Linked DNA regions of Homo sapiens: regions 1 and 2 are each linked to region 3. Evidence: promoter capture Hi-C in 16 types of primary human blood cells and fetal thymus (Javierre and others, 2016). All regions are on one chromosome and are shown on one strand. The core of a region is centred on a gene start or on the middle of the fragment in contact, and the rest is flanking DNA. Distances in the headings are between cores, read along the strand shown. Region 1 has its middle 4.5 kb from the start of CD9. Region 2 has its middle 15 kb from the start of VWF. Region 3 holds the start of IFFO1 (intermediate filament family orphan 1).

Region 1 (3,037 bases), core at 185-2,684, 360 kb before region 3:
GGCTGTGTTGGATCCCTCTGGCAGCTGCAGGGGAGAATTCGTTTCTTCGCCTTCTCCAGCTTCTAGAGGCTGTCCTTGTTCCCCAACACACAGCTGTGCATCACTGCGACCTCTGCTTCTGTCGTCACATCTCCTTCCCTGGCTTTGACACTTCCACCTGTCTCTTATAAGAACCCTTTGGATTCCACTGGGCCCACTGGGATGGTCCAGGCTATGCCATGGAAAGTAACACATTCACAGTTTTGGGGATTGGAACGTGGGCCTATTTGGAGGGCCGTTAGAAGTGGAAACGGGCCAGGCACGGTGGCGCACGCCTGTAATCCCAGCACTTTGGGAGGCTGAGGTGGGCGGATCACCTGGGGCCAGGAGTTCAAGACCAGCCTGACCAACAGGAGGAAACCCCATCTCTACTAAAAATATAAAAAATATAAAAAATATAAAAAACACGGTGGCTTACGCCTGTAATCCCAGCACTTTGGGAGGCTGAGGTGGGTAGATAACGAATTCAGGAGTTCAAGACCAGCCTGGCCAATATGGTGAAACCCCGTCTCTACTAAAAATACAAAAATTAGCTGGGCATGGTGGTGTGCGCCTGTAGTCCCAGCTACTTGGGAGGCTGAGGCAGAAGAATCACTTGAACCCGGGAGGCAGAGGTTGCAGTGAGCCAAGATCGTGCCACTGCACTCCAGCCTGGGTGACAAAGCGAGACTCCGTCTAAAAAAAAAAAAATTATTAGCCGGGCATGGCAGCGCACACCTGTAATTCAATCTGCTTGGGAGGCTGAGGCAAGAGAGTCTCTTGAGCCCAGGGATGGAGGTTGTAGTGAGCCGAGATTGAGCCACTGCACTCCAGCCTGGGCAACAGAGCGAGACTTGGTCTCAAAAAAAAAAAATCTGCAGGCTCTTGGATATCAGGACTTGCATTTACAGAGAGATGAGTTAAACAGAGAAAATGGTGGAAGGCACAAAAGGGGATGAGTGCTCCAGGAGAGGTCTGAGAGAGAAGGGCAGGGGCCTGAGAAAGCCCCACGCCCAGCCGTCATTCTGCAGATGTTTGCAGAGGGCCTGCTCTGGGCCAGGAAGGGACCGGGAGCTAGGGAGAGCACAGAAATTAATCAAATGCAAGTGCACCCTCGAGGAGCTCACTACCAAGAAGTGGACACATAAAGGAAGATGATGATGACCAGAGAATCACACATGCGAGACTCAAGGTAATCCACGGAGAAAAAGACTGGAGTGCTCCAGGAAGGCTTCATAAGGTGGTGTATTTGAGCTTAGAAAGAGGAACAGGAGAGAAGCTTCTAGAAGTGAAGGAGGTGAATCAAGATGGCCACTGGTGTGGTGGCTGGAAGGGCCTTGGTGGCCTGTGAGAGCGAGGGTCCTACCTGTTGCCTTACAAAGCCATTGCCCACAGCTGGAGGGACCTGGGGCATGGGTGTGACGGCTCATTAGGTCACCTGGCCTCTGCGTGTTCAAATCTTACCACCAGGGGGGGCACAAGAGCCAAAGTGGACCCTGAGCCTGAGCTGGGGTTTCTTTCCCAGAGACAGGACGCCTTGAGGGAAGGGAGGAAAAGCTTTCCCACTCCAGCACCACAAAGCCTGGAAGGCCTGGCTGCTTCCATGTGATTTCTGACTCAGGGGCTTACCCATATTTTCCTCTTCCGGTTAAGGCAAAACATAATTTTTCCATCGCTCACCTTCCTGGTTGCCTGTAGCACTAACTGTCTGTAACAAATGCACTTTGGCCCAGGGGTTTATTGTGACACAGAATGTCAGGAGGAATGAAAGACACCTCCTGATCCAAAATGCTGTGAACCAAAAAGTATCTGAGACAGGTCTCAATCAATTTAGAAAGTTTATTTTGCCAAGGTTACAGATGGGCGCCCAGGAGGCAGATCTGTGCCTTCTGCAAAGATGATTTTGAGGGCTTCAATATTTAAAAGGCGGCTGGTGGGGAAAGAGGAAGAAAGTTTTTTTAAGGTGTGGGTAGGTAAGAAACAAACGGTTGCATTCTTTTGAGTCACTGATCATCCTCTCACTGAATGCACAATTTACATGGCAGAGGAGGGTAGAGAAATAAGTCACTTATGCCTTGTCTAGCACAGCGAATCTTCATTTTTACATTGGAGGAAGCAATCAGATATGCATTTGTCTCAGGTGAGCAGAGGGATGACTTTGAGTTCTGTCCTTTTTTCTGTACCTGTGAAGATATGCTATCAATTTACATTGTCATGGTGAAATTCAACAGAACTGTTTTAGGGCAAATATCATAGGGTCCACCAGAAATTTCCTCATGGGCAAATTGTGAAAGAAGTGCATAGCTGCTTTTTTTTTTTTTTTTTTTTTTGAGACGGAGTCTGGCTGTGTCCCCCAGGCTGGAGGGCAGTGGCGCGATCTCGGCTCACTGCAAGCTCTGCCTCCCGGGTTCACGCCATTCTCCTGCCTCAGCCTCCTGAGTAGCTGGGACTACAGGCGCCCGCCGCCACGCCCGGCTAATTTTTTTGTATTTTTAGTAGAGACGAGGTTTCACCGTGTTAGCCAGGATGGTCTTGATCTCCTGACCTCATGATCCTCCCGCGTCGGCCTCCTAAAGTGCTTGGATCACAGGTGTGAGTCACAGCGCCCAACAAGAAGTGCATAGCTTTTTTTGTTTTTTCTTTTTGAGACGGAGTCTCACTCTGTCGCCAGGCTAGAGTGCTGTGGCGCGATCTCGGCTCACTGCAACCTCCAACTCCCTGGTTCAAGGGATTCTCCTGCCTCTGCCTCCCGAGTAGCTGGGATTATAGGTATGCGCCACCATGCCTGGCTAATTTTTGTATTTTTAGTAGAGATGCGGTTTCACTATGTTGGCCAGGATGGTCTCGATCTCCTCACCTCGTGATCCGCCCACCTTGGCCTCCCAAAGTGCTGGGATTACAGGCGTGAGCCACTGCGCCCGGCCGAGAAGTGCATAGCTTTTTAAAAAATCTTTGTAGCTATCTTATTTAGGAATGGGAGGCAGGTTTGCCTGTGGCAGTTCCCAGCTTGATTTTTTCC
Region 2 (3,081 bases), core at 514-3,013, 420 kb before region 3:
GCGATCTTGGTTCACTGCAACCTCTGCCTCCCTGGTTCACGCCATTCTCCCACCTCAGCCTCCCGAGTAGCTGGGACTACAGACGCCCACCGCCACACTCAGCTAATTTTTTGTTTTTATATTTTTAGTAGAGACGAGGTTTCACCGTGTTACCAGGATGGTCTTGATCTCCTGACCTCGTGATCTGCCCGCCTCGTCCTCCCAAAGTGTTAGGATTATGGGCATGAGCCACCGCTCCCAGCCTTTTCATGCATTTTTGTTTGTCTTATCTCCTCCAGTCTGAGCTCTCCTTAGAACAAGACCTTGCCTTACTCATCTCTGTATCTTCCAAAGTGCTCTGTCTGGAGCATAGCACATGGTAAGTGCTCCATAAATGTCTGTTGAACTCCCTGCTAGTAGAACAATGATGTGGGTTAATTAGCATATAATATTAAAATGTAGCTACAGAACTGAAACTGCAGATAAAAAAAATTGCTTAATACCCAAGGAAGTTGTTGCCTGCTCTCCAAATCATCAGCACAGAAGATAGCACTCGTCACTGTGGTTGGGGAAATTGCACGGTGAAAGTCACAGGATGGCTCTGCAAGGGGGCAGGGACATCAGACTGGGGTCACGTTCCCATGTGGTATTCTGCGCCTGTAACTCATATGACACTCTGGCACTATTTCTAAATAACACTCAAGTGTCTGTTTTATCAGAGTATAACACACTTGGCTGGAATAGTTCACTTACTGATATTCCACAATTTATGTAACCAGTTCCATATTATGGGATATTTATTTAGGTTAGTGCTACTTTTTTTTTTTTTTTTTTTTTTTTGAGATGCAGTCTCGCTCTGTCACCCAGGCTGGAGTGCAGTGGCGCAATCTCGGCTCACTGCAAGCTCCACCTCCTGGGTTCATGCCATTCTCCTGCCTCAGCCTCCCGAGTAGCTGGGACTACAGGCACCCGCCACTACACCCGGCTAATTTTTTGTATTTTTAGTAGAGACAGGGTTTCACCGCGTTAACCAGGATGGCCTCAATCTCCTGACCTCGTGATCCGCCCGCCTCTGCCTCCCAAAGTGCTGGGATTACAGGCGTGAGCCACCACTCCCGGCCTACTTTTTTTTTTTTTTAATTAACAATGCTGCAGTGAACATCTTTGAAGCTATATCCATGCACAACCCTCAGGATTACTCCCACAGGATGAAATCCTACATGTGGAGCACTGGGTCAGCCACCGTCCACATTTTCAGTGAGGCCTTTGACAATAAGGCCAAATGGCCCCCCTGAAAAATTGCAATGGTTTATAATGGTTGCAATGGTTTAATTACCCATTTGCTGAGTAGGATTTTGCCAGGTGAAAATGAGGGCAAAGGCACATCAGCTGCAAGGAAGGAAGTAAAAGCTTAGAAGCAGGCAAGCTCTGAGATGCTAAATCAGTAAGTAGGTGAATAAGCCAGTTGTTACAGCCTATAAAGGAGACTCACAGGAAAAGAGACCAAAGAGAGGAATAAGAGGCAAGTCCTCAGGGACCTTCAACCAGTGTAGGGGTTTATGTTCATCCTGTGACACCAGATGAGGCCCTCTGGCAGCAGTGGCATGTATTGTGAGAGGTCAGATGGAGAAAGGGAGATCCATTAGTGGTTGGTGGAACCTTCCCGGACAGGGAAGACGAGGGCCTGGAGGAGACCATGGGTTTGACAAGAGAAGAGCAGATACAGCCAACCACGTAACACATTACGGTAGCAGAAGAACAGCCAAAGATGTCTACATCCCATCTCAAACCTCTGAATGCTACCTTACATGGCAAAAGGGATTTTGCAGATGTGAGCAAGTTAAGGGTCTTGAGATGGGGAGATGATCCTGGCTTACCCCAGAGTATCCTGCTGGGCCGATATAATCACAAGAGTTTTTATAAGAGGAGCAGGAGGGTCAGCATCAGGGAAGGAGATGTGATGATGCGAGCAGAGGTCATGCAACGCGGGGCCACGAGGCAAGGAATGTGTGCCCCTGGAAGTGGATAGAGGCGAAGAACAGGTTCTCCCATAGAACCTACAGAAGGAATCCAGCTCTTCCAACACACCTTGATTTTGATCCAATTCGAGCTTCTTACAATTACGAATTGTAAGATAAATTTGTGTTGTTTCAGGCCACTAAGCTTGTGGTCATTTGTCACTGCAGCAATAGAAAACTAATATAGGCCAAGATATCATGCCACACAACCTGCTCCCTTGCCCTCATGGAGGGTGTCCCAAGGCAGCTTTGCCAAATAAGTTAGAGGACAATTAGTGCTGTGAGGCTCAAGGAAGAAGGATCCCTGAGGACCACAGTATGAGAGCCATTAGAACTTGGGCTGATGTAAACAGCATTAAGTACAAATGGGAAGGGTGCGTGACCTCTGGGGGCGCATGGGGCAGGGCTGCTCAGAGGCAGGGGGATGGGTAAATTGACCTCTGCCTGTCTGAGGAGTAAGTTCTCCAGGTAACTAGTACAAAAGCAAAAGAACCTCAGGGGAGGAAAGGTTTTCTAGGAGGACCCATCTTTGTCTTTTCTTTGTATATTTGTAGCATCTCTCTTACGTAAATTCTGCAGGAAAGAGAATTTTCTTGGCAGTATGCGCCAAATAAATAAACACAGCAGTATTTCTTAGGCCAGACGACCAGCTCCCAGCATAAAGCTGTAGCCCCCAGCGGAGAGGAAGCTGTCCTCCTCTACTTCCTCTCTTCTAAAGACAAACATCTTGTGCAAGAATAACATGCTCACTTCCTTCACAATCATCAAAATAGAGAGGACCCACCCACGCTACAATGTCAGAAGAATGGTGCAGCTTCAGACTCATCTTCCCTGGTTCTCAGGAACAATGACACCACATTATTGCTGCTATCGAGCTACAGAGAACTCAGACCATTACATCTGGTGGCATTCCTGGCCCCAGTAGTAGCACAGCAGGATTCCTGACCCCAGAATCACTATCTCAAGACCTGGGGTTCTAATTTGAGAGGCAGAAAGTTACAGCAACTCAAATTTATATGCATCTTACAAAATAGCTTCAAAATACATAAATTGACAATTGACTTCAAAAAGGCTTTCTCAATTA
Region 3 (3,116 bases), core at 58-2,557:
GCTTTTCCTATGAAACCACAGCAGGTACCTGGTTTCCATCAATATTCTTTGGGAAACCTTGGGGTGTGAAAGAATCACTCGTTGCAAGGTACAGCCCCTCCCTCACCAGCCCCTTCCAGTTTCACTCAATTTAGTCTCCCAAATTTACGCTATATCCTTGCCTCCTACTTTTGAAGTTTATATCCCTAACCTGCCCCAGGGCTGAGACCGGTAGGGCAGAGCCCCAGTCCCTTTCACACCGCACAAAACCCGCAGTTAAGCCTGGATGGCAGAGACAAGCCGGAAAAGTAGGAATCCCCCCGTGTTCCGCTCCCAGCGTCCTTCTTCCTGTCACGAGCAGGGCTTCTGCATTCTCTGCGGATTCTAGTCTCCCTGCATCCAATTGCTTCCAAGCTCCTCATTACACAGCACAAACTTTACTCTCATTCTTTTCACCCCTGATTCTTCGGAACCCACACCAACTCGCGGCCCGTTGTGAGTGGTATGACACAGAGAGACCTGTCCCCCTTTCCCAATCCCTACCTCCGCTTGTACTCGTCCCGCTCCCGCTTCACTTTGGCCAGCACGTTGTAGAGAGCGCGGATCTCGGGCGTGATGGTGTCGATCTGGACGCCCACCCCATCCGGGTGCACCCACGACAAGCCAGGCCCTTGCACCAGAGTGGGCTCCAGTCCCGGCCCGAGCCGGCGGGCGTGCGAGAACGACCAGATGGTGCCGGGCATGAAGCGGGCCGACGAGGAATAGGTGGTGGAGGTGGAGGTGGAGGACGACGAGAGGCTGGCCGCGGAGGGCGCGAGGGGGCCGGCCGGGGAGCGCGCGGGCGAGCCCAGCACGCGCGCCGAAGGGCTGCAGACAGCGGCCGGCCGGGCGCCCAGCTGCAGCCCCAGGGGCCGGATGGGGCTGACGAAGCCGGTCTGCACTGCCTGGTCGCGACGACCCAGGCCCCGCCGGCCCTGCTTACCCTCCTCCAGCGCTTGCTGCAGTTGCTTCTCCAACAGCCGGTTCCGGCGCTCCAGCTCATGCACCTTGGCCAGGAAGCAGCGGAACCGGAGGTTCAGGGTCTTGAGCACGTTGATGTTGGAGCCCAGGTCATTGCGGAGGGCCATGGCGGCAGGCGGGGCCGGGCCCGGCCCGGGCGGCGAGTAGGCAGCAGGGCCGGCCGGCGAGAGAGGCGCCGGGGGCAAGTCTCCTCCCCCGGCGAAGTGGTCGCCTCCCAGTGAGTCCCCCAGTGGCCCGGCCAGGCCCTGCTGCTCCTGCTGCAGGAGGAAGAGGTTGGGGCCGAATAACGGATTCATGGCTGCGCCTTCTGCTGGGAGATGCAGACCGGTGCAGGAGCAGGGATGGAAGGCGAGCCAGAAGAGCCAATGCGGCGCCGGCGGGACAGAGCCGACCAATCAGGCGGCTCGGCAGCGGGGCAGAGGTCAGGGGGCGGGCCGAGGGGAAGCCAATGACAGGCTCCAATTGGAGGCCGGACCCTGGACCTTTCCGGGTCTGAGGCCGAGCCCTGTGATGAGGGGAGCCACCGCCTGGACTCCAGCCGGGGTGGCGTAAAGCCCAGGACCTCCAGTACCCCATGGGTTCTGGTGGCAAGCCCATCTCCCCTACACGACTTTTTTTTTTTTTGAGACCGAGTCTCACTGTCGCCCGGGCTGGAGTGCAGTGGCGCGATCTTGGCTCACTGCAACCTCAGCCTCCCAGGTTCAAGCGATTCTCCTGCTTCAGTCTCCCGAGTAGCTGGGATTACAGGCACCCGCCACCACACCCGGCTGATTTTTTGTATTTTTAGTAGAGACGAGGTTTCGCCATGTTAGCCAGGCTGGTCTCGAACACCTGACCTCAGGTGATCCACCCGCCTTGGCCTCCCAGAAAGTGCTGGGATTACAGGCATGAGCTAGTGTGCCCCGCCTTCCCCTACACTTCTATTGCCCTCCTCTCCCCGGAGTTCAATCACCCCTAGCTCTGACTCCAGGGCTTTCCCTTCCTGGGAAAACCCAAGGATGCAGGAGCCTAAAACTGACCTTATTTCTCAGTAGCACCCAACCATTCCCTCTCCTCAGAAGATCCCAGTCCCACCTCCCATCTTTACCCTTAAAGCGGCAAAGGCAGCACCCAGTTCCCTCAAAAATACTCAGTGGCCAGAGGTTTTAAAATGTGTATTAAATTTCATGGGTATGCACAGTAGAGAAGGCATCCTCACAGAGGCAAGAGTTCCAACCTGGTGACAATGGCAGTGAGCCACCCGTCTAGTTTTCAACCATCTAAGATAGCAGCAGCTGGCTGTTGCCCCTGGACTGAGATTTCTTCCTCTTTGCTGGTGGGGGGCGGCTGGAACGGATGGGAGACACAGTGGGAGGCTGAGGCCCCTTGGGGGTATCATTCTGTTTCTGGAAGGCAGCTTTCTCAAAAGGCTGCTCTGGCAACTGCTGCTTCTCAACCCCCTTGGCCCTTCCAAGGGGCTGATGATGGTCCTTAGGTTTCAGGGTGGCCTGAGTCTTGGATGGGGATAACACAGCCGGTGTTTGTGTGTCTGTGCCCTTGGGAGGGGCATTCTGCCTGAGGAAAGCAACTTTCTTGGAGGACTGTAATTTAGGTGATCGTTGCTTTAGCTTCCCAGTCACCTTTGGCTCCCTGATCCCTTCGGCTTTTCCAGCTGGCTGACTGCTATCCTGGAAGCTGGAGGAAGCTTGGGTCTTTGTGACAGAAGGTACAGTGGACAATTCTGAGTCTGCCCCTTTGGAGATGCCATTCAGCTTCTGGAAGGAGGCCTTCTTGGGATGTTGCTGTTTCTGCAGCTGCTGCTTTGTCTTTGCAGCCCCCTTGGCTTTCTTGGCTGGCTGGCTGCTGTTCTCAGACTTGGGGATGACCTGAGGCAAGTCTACATTTGTAGGTGTGGCTGTTTCAGAATTTCCTGGGGTTAAAATTAAACAGATGGTGTCAGAAAATGGGCCTTATCACCATATTTTAATATTCTCATATTAAAATATGAGAATTGCCATTTCCTGGGCAGGAGCTCCACACAATTAGGTCAGTGCCTAAGAGCAGATTACCTAAATTCCCATTACTTAATATAACTTGGCCTTTACTCAAGTCCTAGTTGAACCTTGTATTAAAAGATC

Evidence for each region. Contacts are between HindIII fragments. The CHiCAGO score rates a contact against its expected background, and 5 or more counts as called.
Region 1: a contact is called between a fragment that was not itself captured here and the fragment with the promoter of IFFO1 in region 3, in 1 of 17 cell types (non-activated CD4 T cells). The highest score is 6.1, in non-activated CD4 T cells.
Region 2: a fragment that was not itself captured here is called in contact with the fragment with the promoter of IFFO1 in region 3 in 1 of 17 cell types (naive CD4 T cells); the score reaches 5.5 in naive CD4 T cells.

What each region holds. Positions count from the first base shown.
Region 1 is chr12:6,194,363-6,197,399 of GRCh38, forward strand. No RefSeq gene overlaps it. Among named protein-coding and RNA genes, the nearest start is that of CD9, 4.5 kb to the right of the region's middle. The HindIII fragment of the contact is 278 bases long and covers 1,296-1,573 here.
Region 2 is chr12:6,138,473-6,141,553 of GRCh38, forward strand. No RefSeq gene overlaps it. Among named protein-coding and RNA genes, the nearest start is that of VWF, 15 kb to the left of the region's middle. The HindIII fragment of the contact is 753 bases long and covers 1,388-2,140 here.
Region 3 is chr12:6,554,735-6,557,850 of GRCh38, forward strand. IFFO1 (intermediate filament family orphan 1) reads right to left here and starts at 1,308. Exons shown (of 10, transcript NM_001193457.2): 1 at 523-1,308. The coding sequence starts at 1,295. It overlaps NOP2 (NOP2 nucleolar protein), which reads right to left. Exons shown (of 16, transcript NM_001258308.2): 16 at 2,137-2,908. The coding sequence ends at 2,259. RefSeq lists an enhancer at 1-285 and silencers at 746-925, 1,036-1,275, 1,326-1,485. The HindIII fragment of the contact is 7,963 bases long and covers 1-2,681 here.